Linked DNA regions of Homo sapiens: region 2 is linked to region 1. The links are contacts of gene promoters, found by promoter capture Hi-C in human tissues and cell types (Jung and others, 2019). All regions are on one chromosome and are shown on one strand. Each heading gives the region's core, a stretch centred on a gene start or on the middle of the fragment in contact. The rest is flanking DNA. Distances are from core to core; before and after follow the strand shown.

Region 1 (6,362 bases), core at 1,340-3,839:
CTGCCCACCTCAGCTTCCCAAAGTGCTGGGATTATGACATAAGCCGCCACGCCTGGCCTGCACATTTATTTTAATAATGTTGTCATAGCTACAGTCGCTTCTAGAGTTGCTCTTTGGGGATAACTATCTTATATTCTTCTGAATATATTTTAATAGTGACAAAACTTATCTTTGCAGGTGATTTTTAAAATTTGTATGCAGCCAAGTCACTATGAATTATCTTTAGTGAGTAAAGAGGAAGATCGAACTGGTAACACTGTGGGTAAACAACTGAAAAATAATGTTATCTTTCTCTGAACATACTTGCACAAGACAAATTCCAAAAATATTTTGACTACATTATTTTTGAAAAGGGTTTCCAGTATTTCAATGTGACTACTTTCACTAATGGTACTTGCTTACCTAAAGTGCTTGTTAACATGCAGTTTTGGAACTTCATAGGTCTATGCCCATACTGACTTGTACTTGCTTAGTGTTGTTTCACATTCTAGTTCAACATCTATTATGTGATAGACACTGGGGATTAATAGGCTGTGGTCTTTGCCCATGAGGACCTCAAAACTTAGTTGAGAACACAGAAATACAAAGAGTCCTGTGTGAAAAATAAGTATCGGTGTTAAGATAAAGAAGCGGCAGTGGAAGACAGTGGAGGGACTGTCTGTTAGGGGGAGGAATTTATTGCGGTGTCGGCAAAGCCTTCTTTGGACTGAAGGATGAATTATGATTAGAAGTTCATTAAGAGGAGGAGGGAAGGGGACTACAGGAGTCATTCCAAGCCAAAGGAACAAAAGATACAGGGACAGAAACAGCAAGATATGTTTGGGGGAATCTCAAGTTAGTCAATACTGTTATTGTGTGAAGTTCACAACAGGGGCAGGGAGGACAGGAGATGGGGCCCAATGACGAAAAGGCCTTGTATGTACCATGTTTAGAAGTTTGAATTTTATCCTATAGGAGTCAGGGAGAGGTTCTATGGGTAGGATTTCCCATCCCAACAGGATTGTAAACTCCCACATCCAATTAGTCACACCTCCATTTTTTTTTTCTGTTTCTTTAACATTGTCTCGGATTCATTCCTTCTGAAATCTACCTTATTAGTTCAGGTCTTCTTAAATTTGTGCCTGGACTGTTCACCAACTCTTGACTGGTCCTGGGGCTCCAGTTCACCTCTTGCTCCCCCAACAATCAATTTTCTACAGAATTATCAGAGCAATCTTCCTTTCCATCAATCTCAACTCTGTTCAAAAACTTTCAATAGTTTTATGTGACCTAAGAGGTAGCTGCCTCCCCACCCTTTCAGCTTGCCATTCAAGGCTGCATAATTTGGTCCCAACCCCCTTTCCGTCCTTGACTCCTCTCACTGCTAACAGAGACAGAACTCATTTACTTACTCTTTTGACTGTACCTTTGCTTTCACGAGGGCTCTTTCCTGGAATGATATGTCCATACAACTATTGTTGCTGTTCTTACTTTTAGCTCTTTTCTTAGAAGCCCACTTGTACCCAGGTTTGATCACACCCCCTACTCTCCTGCCCTGGAAGTAACTACTATTCTGGTTATAGTCTCTTAATATCTATATCTATATATATGCATCCACAGATAATGTGTAGTATTGTCTTGAAAAAAATATACATAAATGGTATACTTTGTCTCCCTCTGTGATTAGTTTTTTCACTATCATTTAGTTTTTAAGATTTATCCCTATTGACATAAATAGCTATAGTCTTTTCAATTACTGTGTTGCATTTCATTTTATAAATATACCATACATTATTCATCCATTCCTCTAAGGGTGGGCATTTATGTTGTTTTCAAGGTTTTGCTATTACAGTGTTACAACGAATATCCTTAGCTTAGCTGGTCTCCTTGTCTTATACAAATTTTACTGACCTTTCAAGATCCTGCTTTCATCCCAGCTCCTCTGGGAAAGCCTTCCCTGAATCCCCCAGCCCACAGCGGCAAAGTCTTGGTACTCAAAGTTGCTTGTGCATCTTTGGTATCATCCCACTGCCAAGCACACAGCTACGCAAAGTAAGGCACTTAAGAAATATTCGCTACACGGATGAACAAATGAATGAATGAATGGGGCAGCACCACTCCGTGATGGCTCTATTCCTTTTTAATGGACTTTGGCGCCTTGGCCCACTTTCCTTCTTTGACAGCACTGGTCCTACTCCAGAGCATTCCTCTAGCTAGCAAAGCAGTGTGTGGATGTGTGGGTGTAGGTGGCGATACAGACCTCACTGGATGAGGACCGCCTCTCCCTGCAAGTTCACGATCCCGGCAAACTCCAGTGCTTGAAGTTCAGAGTCCTACCCCACCCCCCTCACCCCCACGCCCCTTCTGCACTGGTCAAGCCAGCGAGCCGCTGCAGCCCTGATCGAGTTAAGGCGCGGCGGCCCCCGGGGCCGCTGGAGAAGGATGCGGACGGGGCCAGTGACTCGTAGTAGATCCCTCCGCGCGGAGCTCGGGCCGGCGCTTCTTCCTGCGGGAAACCCCTGGGTGCCCAAGGCGGCGGGGCCGAGGCCGCGGCGACAGTGGGGCGGGGCTTGCGGTGGGAGGAGGCGGCTGAGGCGGAAGGACACACGAGGCTGCTTCGTTGCACACCCGAGAAAGTTTCAGCCAAACTTCGGGCGGCGGCTGAGGCGGCGGCCGAGGAGCGGCGGACTCGGGGCGCGGGGAGTCGAGGCATTTGCGCCTGGGCTTCGGAGCGTAGCGCCAGGGCCTGAGCCTTTGAAGCAGGAGGAGGGGAGGAGAGAGTGGGGCTCCTCTATCGGGACCCCCTCCCCATGTGGATCTGCCCAGGCGGCGGCGGCGGCGGCGGAGGAGGAGGCGACCGAGAAGATGCCCGCCCTGCGCCCCGCTCTGCTGTGGGCGCTGCTGGCGCTCTGGCTGTGCTGCGCGGCCCCCGCGCATGGTGAGTATCGGGCTGAGGGGCGCTGTCCGCGGCGCCCGGGGCTGCCACCTGGGGCGACCCTTCTCCCCCTCGGTCCTTCTCTGTGTGGGAAGGCCAGGCTCGGCCGCCGGCGCGGAGCGAGGCCACTCGCTGGGTTCCCAAGAGTTTGGACATCGCCGGGGGCCCCTCCCGTGGTGCCCCGCCAACCGCCGGGGTTCCCCGCCGCCTCTGCTCCCCGCGGCCCGGGACCCCTTACACGCCTCCTCGGCAGGAGGGAGGCCGGCAGCAAGTCTCAGAAACTCCTTTTTCGTAGTGCCAGGGTGCAGGGAGGTGGGCAGTTTTGCCCTTCAGGTTCCGCGTTTCTTGGGGTCGAGCGAGAGCCGACGGCGGGCCTCGGAGGGGCTGAGCGAAGGAATGCCAGATTCTGGCGTGGAGAGCGGGGGCAGGGCCGCCAAGCCAAACGGCCTGCACCGTCGCAGCCAGCCTCGCCTTTGCCAGGGGGCGGCACATGGGCCGGGTGTGTGGGCTTGGTTTGGATGGGGACGGGGTTTTGCGGCGCGCCTGAGTTTTGACACTCCAACCCCACCGAAAGTCCGGGGGAGCCGTGTGTGCTGCTCGCGTCTTTGAAAGGTGGAGGCAGGAGAAGTAGGGCAACTGGTGTGGCTGCATGCTGAGGCACATGATTTAAAAATCTCAACTGCTGTTATTCTTTCCGAGGCGCGGAGCTCTGCTGCTGTTTCAGGCTGTGTCCAGACCCAGGAATGTGGTGTGACGATCACCAATTCCTCCAACCTGGCAGCAGCATTTGCTGCTCCTTTGGCATGGCTGGGGGTGGGGCACGGGCGGGTGAGAAAAAGTGGATACGTTAATTCAAAGGGCTTCCTTAGAAAGCTTCTTTATGGTTGGATGTTTCTAACACGGTTGGACCAAGGAAAGGGAATCAAATCATATCTTCCCCATCCCACCCACACTTTTAGATTCTACATTTCTTCAGACCCTTTAGTGGAAATAACTTGGGCTTTGGAGCCCTGCTCTGTAATCCTGGATTCAAATCCAGCTCTGCTATATGAACTCACCAATAAAATGGGAAAGAAATTATCCAGCTAATAGGATTAATTAAAATAATGTATATTAAACGGATGACACTCCAAAGGTGTTCAGAAAGTCCTTTCAGGGCCGAGGCTGTGTTTTACTGCTTCTGAGATTGATGCTCCCAGTGGGATGCTGTCTTGTGCATATTTGTTGAACGGAAAGCAGCCCCTTCTTTTTCTGAGCCTAATCTGAATAAAGATTTTTACCTTCACCAAAAAACTAGTACATGAACTACATCTGTTTTCAAAGAAAAGGTTAGGAAGATGATGAGCTTCAGAAAAATATGGTCTTTGTTCATTGTTAACAGTCAGTCGACATGTCAATCGCAGATGTTTAAAAAGAGAACAAGGTTATTTATCACCCGAAAATAGTACTGGGTTGTTCAGCACCAACTAGATACTTCTTGGAAAGTTCAAATTTCGTACACGTCTAGGTCACTAAGAATTTCAGAAGTGGACCAGGAGGCTTTGTAGTGATGAAGCAGAGCCGTTGTTTCTGAAGCATTTAATAAAGAGCATATATGATGGTGTTTTTGCTTTTCCTTTTTCTTTGAGTGAAAGCTTTAAGTGTAGCTTTAGGATAGAGAGGAGTATGATCAATGAGACAGTCTGAGGGTAATAATCCTTGGTCTATCATTAACTTGTTTTGGTAAATAACTTAATCTTCATGATATGTAGTCTCCTCACCTATGAAGCAGGACTAAAGGAATAACCTGCTTTAGAGAATTGTAGGGAATAATAAATATAATTGTAAAGTGATTTGAAAAATTAAGTATTAAATAATATGATATCAGAAATGGGATTACTCTGACACATAGGGCTTCTTTTATTATAGGATCTCAGTGCATAAAACTATGCCCTCCACCTCTGCTCTGCTGAGGTGCTGCGATTATTAGCTAGCTTTTAGGTAGTCAAGTTGAGTGTTAGTCAAGTTGACTCAAAGGATAGGATTTAGATATTTTGATTTTTAGACAGGTGTTCTTTAGATGCTAAACTAATGCAGTAGAAGAGATTTAGAAGCCGTTTCTCGGTACAAATCTTAAATCTTCTTAGAGTCTACAGTGAAGGCTTCTTGAATCCTCTTAATTTATTATTGTGTTTTGCTAAGGTACCAGTTGCAGCACACCCTTCTAAACTTTTGAGTGTTCCTGTGTTTGGCTTGTGGCCAATTGTTAATTTAAACATCACGGAGTTTCTAAGGCAAGGAGATGTTAGCAGTATGTCTGATTGTCTAAACAGCTATCCAGGACCATCCTCTTGCTCCTTGTTTTCTTTTGCTTTGCAATGGGAAGTGACTCCCTGATTTTGCTGCCTGCTAGATAATTTCTCAGCTGAATTCTTCTCTTGCTTAAACAAAATCGGAGTAATTTTCTTTCAGATGGTGATGAAATTTAACCTAAAACTATTTTTCCTTTCACTTTCTTATTATTCCTTTTTTTTTGGTGTGGTGGAGAGGAGGAGGAGAGTGATTCCTAGTCTCTCTTATTTTTCTGAATGTTTAGATTTAAAAAATATTTACCCATAACTTCTTGGGATCTCTCTGCTCCATTCCCACCCTACTGCCTCTCCTGTAGGCTTCTATGACATAGAGGAGCAACTTTTGGTTCACCTGGATTGTAGTTGCTGACTTCAGGACCTTTAGAGAATGTTTAAATTCAGTGGGATATGCTTGGATGGTTCAGAGCAGCCTTACAATACATCTTAAAAATATCACACCCACAGAAATTCTATTTTGCCCACAAAATTTGCATTGATCTAGTTCCCACTCTGTGTTGCCATTCCTAGTGATCCTCCTCCCTACCTCTCCCATTATGGTAGAAAAAACTCTGTGTCCTGGCTACATCAAAATCTGTTGGGGTGGATCTTGGACTCAGCACCCAGGGATTCTGATAAGGTAAGTTTGAGAATCCATATTTTTTCAAGGTTTACAGGTGATTCTGACAAGTAACTTGGTTGCAACCCACTGATTAAGTACATTTTTTTTTACCTTCAGGTGTGTGTATGAGGTCTTTCTAAATTTAAGAAATTTCCATAACAAATGTAACCTTAGTCATTCCAGTGTTTAACGCTTCTGACTCAAGGAATTTAAAAATTGCTAACGTAAGAGATATAGAATATAATGTCATTTCTTCTATTTATCTGGGTGCAATATGTCTGCATTGACCCTTTAGAAGGGCTTCATATATTTAGATGATATAATAAATTCTCCACCTCTCCTTTTCCCTTTTCTTCTGTTATCTCTTTTTCCTTAAATGTCATTCATACATGTTGTTTTTTGACCCTTTATCTATATACGTCTGCAATGATTTTAGAGTAAAAAACTGCAAGGCGTGATTTGAATAAGGATATAAGAAATTTTACATCATTTTCTTTAT
Region 2 (6,493 bases), core at 1,595-4,094, 120 kb after region 1:
AAAAAATGTGAATACTCATACTTCATAGGAGTGGGTATCTGTTTCATTTGGAATGTCCTATTCTAAATACAGGATTGCTCTTTCTTAAATGAGAAAAATGCATGTTTTCAAAATCAGAATCAGAACATTGTGTTCTTTGAAATATATAAATTCATAGCAGTTGCTTGATGCCACTCATTTATAGAATTATAGGTAATTTTAACATTTCATATCATTTTGGAATATATAGTTAAATCTCAGTTACTCAAAATGTAACAAATGGAAACACTTGTATAACTGACCCGTATTACTTTATTCAGCCTAAGAAATATCAAGGTTATAGCAGACATCTTTTTAAAGAGCAATCTTGGCTATGTCTTGGAGGAGCAACATATTCACTTCAATTTCACTTACTCCCAGTATCCACATTGTATGATGATGATAAGTAATAATTGTCTAGAACAGAATTTCTCAAAATCTAGTTTTTACACCACCTACATTTAAAAAAATATGGTTTGCTAGATTCTATTCATCACAATCTATGGTGATAGGGCCTAGGAATCTCCACTTAAAATAACAACTTAAAGTGATGATTTTGCACATTAAAGTTTAAGAACCATAGGTCTGCAGTGACAGACTGCATTATTTTCTCTAATATCAGAAGACAACAAAATTATACTTTGAGACTCTACTTCCTGAGGTCAAAAAAAATGGATTAATAGACTCTAAGAATGAAAACAAAATAACCTTTCTTTACAATCAATTTAATTATTGAATTAAGTTACTAGCCCATTCATTAAGCATTCCAGTTAATTTGGATTTACCATAAATAGAAATGTAAGAGGCTGAGAAAATGAATTTGTGCTAAACCGGCACAAAGCATGTTAATGAATGCTTCTTTGAGTTGTACTCAGGGCAGCATTAAGAAGAGAAGCCTTCTTTGGTAACATTTGACATTCTCTTCTTAGAACCTTGTGAAGTTTCCCCATTTCTGAGTTGAAAGAAAATGCCAAATTGCTATAACACTTTTCCAGCCTTTTGTTAACTTTCCTTGATTATCAAAAGTCAATGCTCTTTGCTCCTTTGCATGGCATTAAGTGTTATTGGGTGTCTAATTCCTTACATCTTGACATTTGGTGCCTCAAGGCACCTTATGGCCTGAGCAGATGAAGGATGTCAACATAACGTGTCTTATAGTTCTGGGTCTATTTCCTAAGCATTTAGGATGTGACTAACACTGTCCCCCTTCTCCACAGGGCAGAGATGTAACATTGACATTGATGAGTGTGCCTCCAATCCCTGTCGCAAGGGTGCAACATGTATCAACGGTGTGAATGGTTTCCGCTGTATATGCCCCGAGGGACCCCATCACCCCAGCTGCTACTCACAGGTGAACGAATGCCTGAGCAATCCCTGCATCCATGGAAACTGTACTGGAGGTCTCAGTGGGTGAGTAGCTGCCCCATGTGATAGTTTCTTATTGACCTGTGTTAAGCCAGTTGGCTTGTAGTACTGGTGACAGCCTGAAGTTGTCAAATGGGGCTTTGAGCTGAAACTTTGCTGAAGATTTGGTAGTCTGCATCAAAGCCTTCTGAATTACCATTTAATCCATGGAAGCTGGCCCCTCCCTTCCATAAGTGAGGACCTAGATGGAACATAAGGAGGAATGTCTCCCTTATATGGGTCATTAGCAAGGACCTCATGGGAGGAACCCATACTCATTGTATGAATCTTTGGCAGTTATGTTTTTAGTATGTATTACTGGAATGATTTCTGAAGAATGTTCTAGCTTTTGATTTTTTTTCCCCTGCTTAAACATAGCTCAGCTCTGTTCTGTCACAGTGCCAGTGTGTGCTCTGAAGTAGGGCCGCTTCAGCCAACTTTAGAAATGTCCCTGATAAAACATTTGCAATTTTTAAGCCCCACAGACTTGTGTGATGTGTTAGTGATTTTCTAGAATCATAGAGTGACCTTAGGTCTCACGAGACGCTCTTATACTCTTGCTGCATTTGCCATAGGATATGGCTTTGGACATTTTCCTTTGCCAAACTTTGAAAGATGAAAGGATAAAGAGTGTTTAGTGGCAAATAGTAAATAAAGTTATTTAAAAATTAATTAACTCAGTATTGGTGTTTCAGAGTATAGCAGCCTTCAAGGCACCCTTATCCATCTCTCATTTTCTTAAAATTCTCCCGATAAGAAAGCTATCATTTCCTGATATCACATTCTAAGTGTTAGTGATGTTCAAATTGGAGATTATATTTACAATTCAAATACCTTCATTCCTGTGCCTTTTCCTGCAGAATACCCTAGGTGCTTTCTGAAGCCAAGTGTTAGGTCAAGACAAAGCATGACTTAGATATGAAATATCCCAGGAGCATCTTAGAGTGGCTCAGGGTCCCTGACAGTGACCTAGGTATCTATTTGGCACCAAAAACTAATGATCTTAATGTTTGCTTTACTTTAGTTTTATGTATAATAACATACATTGTGCAGATTTATCCATGATATTGTTTCCTTCAGAGTGGCCCAATATATTGTAGAAACCATTGTTTACATAAGAAATTTCATTATAATTTCACTAACTTAGTGAGCCAGGAAAGCACCAAGAAGGTTTCTTTACTGGATACACCTGATAGGGCCACATGGTACACACCATGTGCAAGGTGATGCAAGGATAGTTCCATGAAAGTAGAAATGAGATCAGTTTACCCCATTTCTTCACCAAGTCCTGTATTTCACTCTATGACTCAATCATACGTTTATACCTCCTATAGTAAAAAGTTTTGTCTTCTTTCAGATATAAGTGTCTCTGTGATGCAGGCTGGGTTGGCATCAACTGTGAAGTGGACAAAAATGAATGCCTTTCGAATCCATGCCAGAATGGAGGAACTTGTGACAATCTGGTGAATGGATACAGGTGTACTTGCAAGAAGGGCTTTAAAGGTGAAAACAAAAGTACATCTTTCTGCGTCTGCTCTTTGTCTTCTTGTTGTTGCATACTGCTTGACTCACTTCTTAGTTTCCTTTTCTCTTTTTCATTCATTCGTGTAACAAACATATTGAGCAATTAGACTTGTAAGGCACTTGGGGAATAAAAACATGAATAGATACAATTTCTACCTTCAGCCTAGCAGAGAGGTGACCTATTGAAATAGTAATTTTTTTTTTTTTTGACACAGAGTTTTGCTCTTGTTGCCCAGGCTGGAGTGCAATGGTGCGTGATCTTGGCTCACTGCAAGCTCTACCTCCCGGGTTCAAGCCATTCTCCTGCCTCAGCCTCCCTAGTAGTTGGGATTACAGGCATATGCCACCACACCCGGCTAATTTTGTATTTTTAGTAGAGACGGGGTTTCTCCATGTTGGTTAGGCTGGTCATGAACTCCTGACCTCAGGTGATCTGCCCACCTCGGCCTCTCAAAGTGCTGGGATTACAGGCGTGAGCCACCGCACCCAGCCTGAAATGGTAATATTTAAGATGAGCAGTTAAGACTCCAGTTTTACAGCATTGGCCAAGTGTCTAATTATAAGCTTCCTGGTCCAGGTTTGAGTCTATGATAGTTCAAATAGATATATGGAAGTAGAATGAAAATATTATGCTTACTATAATTAAGATAGTAGTAATATCAAGGAAGAATCCACATGTTCAGAACTCTTTCAACAAACTTTTTAACACATTGAGATATTCTTAGTTATTTAGTCATCTTTGGTCTACACCGGAGGTCCTCAACCCTCAGGCTACAGACCAGTACCTGTGTGTGGCCTGTTAGGAACCAGGCCACACAGCAGGAGGTGAGCAGCCAGTGAGGGAGCAAAGCTTCATCTGTATTTATAGCCACTCCCCGTCACTCACATTACCGCCTGAGCTCTGTCTCTGTCAGATCAGTGGTGGCCTTAGATTCTCATAGGACTGCGAACCCTATTGTGAACTCCACATGTGAAGGATGTAGATTGTGCGCTCCTTATAAGAATCTAGTGCCTGATGATCTGTCACTGTCTCCCATCACCTCCAGATGGGACTGTCTAGTGGCAGGAAAACAAGCTCAGGGCTCCCACCAATTCTACATTATAGTAAGTTGTAAAACTACTTCATTGTATATTACAGTGTAATATTATAATAATAAAAGTAAAGTGCACAATAAATGGGATGTGCTTGAATCATCATCCTAAAATCATCCCCCCAACCCCGGATCATGGAAAAATTGTCTTCCACGAAACCAATCCCTGGTGCCAAAAATGCTGAGGGACTGCTGGCCTACCCAACAAATGGATAGTCATGGGAATTGTGTAAAATCTGCTTCTGAGTTATCACTGTTATATTTCTACCATCAGTTTTCTCTTGGAAACTCACAAAAGAGAGCCGTGTGGGTAAATCATTATATTTGCACTCATCTGTCTATTTATTCATTGATTTCCTCACTCAAATATTGTGCTATGCTATTGTGATACATCAGCATGTTTTAGAGCCACTTTATTTGATTACTTGAAACATTTCTGAGACTGTATTTCAGCCATTAATTTTCTGATATATTGTATTACATTGGCAAAGAAACTTGTAGATTTCAAAACACTTTTATTTCTTTATCTTCTGAGACTTGCTTATCAGTGAACAAAATAAAATTCAAAAGGTAAAATCCCAAATTATATGCCCAGTGGGCAGCAGAATACTCCTTGAACCCATACCTCTGCATTCCTAGACCATGTTTTCTTTTCCACAGTGCCATAGTTTCTCTACTTTAAGGCTCTGTGCCAGGCCCTATTGGAGATGCAAAGGTGTGCAGTATTTGGGTACTGTGCTATCTCCACTAATTTTTTATTCCTTTTATCCTTTTCTTAGTGGGAGAAGGTTTCATGCCTTGAATCAGGAGAAAACAGCTTTGTAACTTCAGGAAGTACCACATGGGTGGTAGACATGGTGCCTATGAAAAAATGGGCATAAACCAGAGGCTTTGATTAATGTATTCAAAAACATCATCCCTTTTCCTGACCAGAAATGTTATATACAAAGAGCTTATGTTTATCATGCAACAAGCTATTGGCTGGGTGCGATGGCTCACACCTGTAATCCCAGCATTTTGGGAGGGTAAGGTGGGAGGATCACTTGGCCACAGAAATTGGAGACCAGCCTAGGCAACATAACGAGACCTCATCTCTACAAGAAATTTAAAAAATCAAGTGGGCATGATGGCATGCACCTGTGGTTCTAGCTACTCAGGAGGCTGAGGTGGGAGGATTGCTGAGCCCGAGAGGTCGAGGCTGCAGTGAGCCATGATTACACAACTGCACTCCAGCCTGAATGACAAGAGTGAGACCCCCTGTCTCAAAAATAAATAAATAATAAATAGATCCTGCAACAAGCTTTTGAACCAAGAACTTCATTATTGAGAAGTTATTTGTAGTTGGAGGGGCATTAGGCTTTCAGATCATTAGAATAGACTGTTTTTCCATTCATCTTTTCAACTAATTGCTGTCATTTACTGACTGTATTTCAGGGACATGGGGCTGAAATGAATGAACAGGTATTTCAGTGGCCTGAAGAAATGAATGCAATTTCTGATGTGTTCAGTTTTTACCCCTAAAGAGAATTGGTTAGAAATTGATGAGGCTGTCAGAAAGTTTTACTGTTTTTGGTTTTTTCCTTTTGTCTACAGGCTATAACTGCCAGGTGAATATTGATGAATGTGCCTCAAATCCATGCCTGAACCAAGGAACCTGCTTTGATGACATAAGTGGCTACACTTGCCACTGTGTGCTGCCATACACAGGTGGGTCCTGGAGGTACCAGCAGGGACCAGAGGGGATACTTGACCTTGCTTTGTCAGTGCCTGAGTCTCAGTGCCCAGGTCTGTGGGGCTGTAATGCTCCTCCGAGGGCTCACTCCTCAGTTGTCCTTCCTGCCTTTACTGACTGGATCTTGAGCTTTGAGGAAACATTGTGGCCTCCTAAGATGCAAGTGGTGGACAGTCATTTGCCTACATTGTACTTTAGTATTTGAAAGAAATTTTTTTTTAATTGTATGTGGCTGGAACCAGGCACATAGATGATGGTTGTCTATCATTTGAATGTTTCCAGGACATTAGCTATTTGTCTTAGTTTCAATAATACAGCTACCACTTATTGGTAATTTACTATGTGCCAGACACTTTTTGTACTTTGGATTATTTAATGTATTCCTCAATAATTCTACAATGTAGAAGTTCCTATTGCCATTTTACACATGAGGAGGCTGAGGCAAAGGGAGCTTGCTTGCTCAAGGTCATATAGGTAAGTAGTACATCTAGGATTTACCTGTAGGTCTCTTTGAATCTGAAGCTTTTCCTCTTAATGGCCTTTTTACTTCCCACATTCAGTACCGCTACATCTCACTCAGAGGTGTCACCCCTTCGATGGCTGTTACAACTGAGAAGACGTGAGTGTGACTGCATGTCACATAGCTGTTCTTTGTTTCAGTTGTTATGTTTGGAGTGTGCTTGGGACATTTATTCTTTGTTTTCTACTGGCTTATTATCGCCTT

Evidence for each region. The method cuts DNA at HindIII sites, captures the fragments that hold promoters and counts their contacts. A contact is called where the count stands out against the background at its distance.
Region 2: a contact is called between a fragment that was not itself captured here and the fragment with the promoter of NOTCH2 in region 1, in 5 of the 25 tissues and cell types used here (adrenal gland, dorsolateral prefrontal cortex, mesenchymal stem cells and 2 more).

Annotation. Positions count from the first base shown.
Region 1 is chr1:120,065,889-120,072,250 of GRCh38, reverse strand. NOTCH2 (notch receptor 2) reads left to right here and starts at 2,589. Exons shown (of 34, transcript NM_024408.4): 1 at 2,589-2,917. The coding sequence starts at 2,845. It overlaps LOC101929178 (a long non-coding RNA gene), which reads right to left and starts at 2,423. Exons shown (of 2, transcript XR_254374.4): 1 at 2,240-2,423. The HindIII fragment of the contact is 15,776 bases long and covers 1-4,168 here.
Region 2 is chr1:119,949,975-119,956,467 of GRCh38, reverse strand. NOTCH2 (notch receptor 2) reads left to right here. Exons shown (of 34, transcript NM_024408.4): 13 at 1,236-1,428; 14 at 2,780-2,925; 15 at 5,631-5,744. Among named protein-coding and RNA genes, the nearest start is that of ADAM30, 57 kb to the right of the region's middle. The HindIII fragment of the contact is 5,940 bases long and covers 1-5,814 here.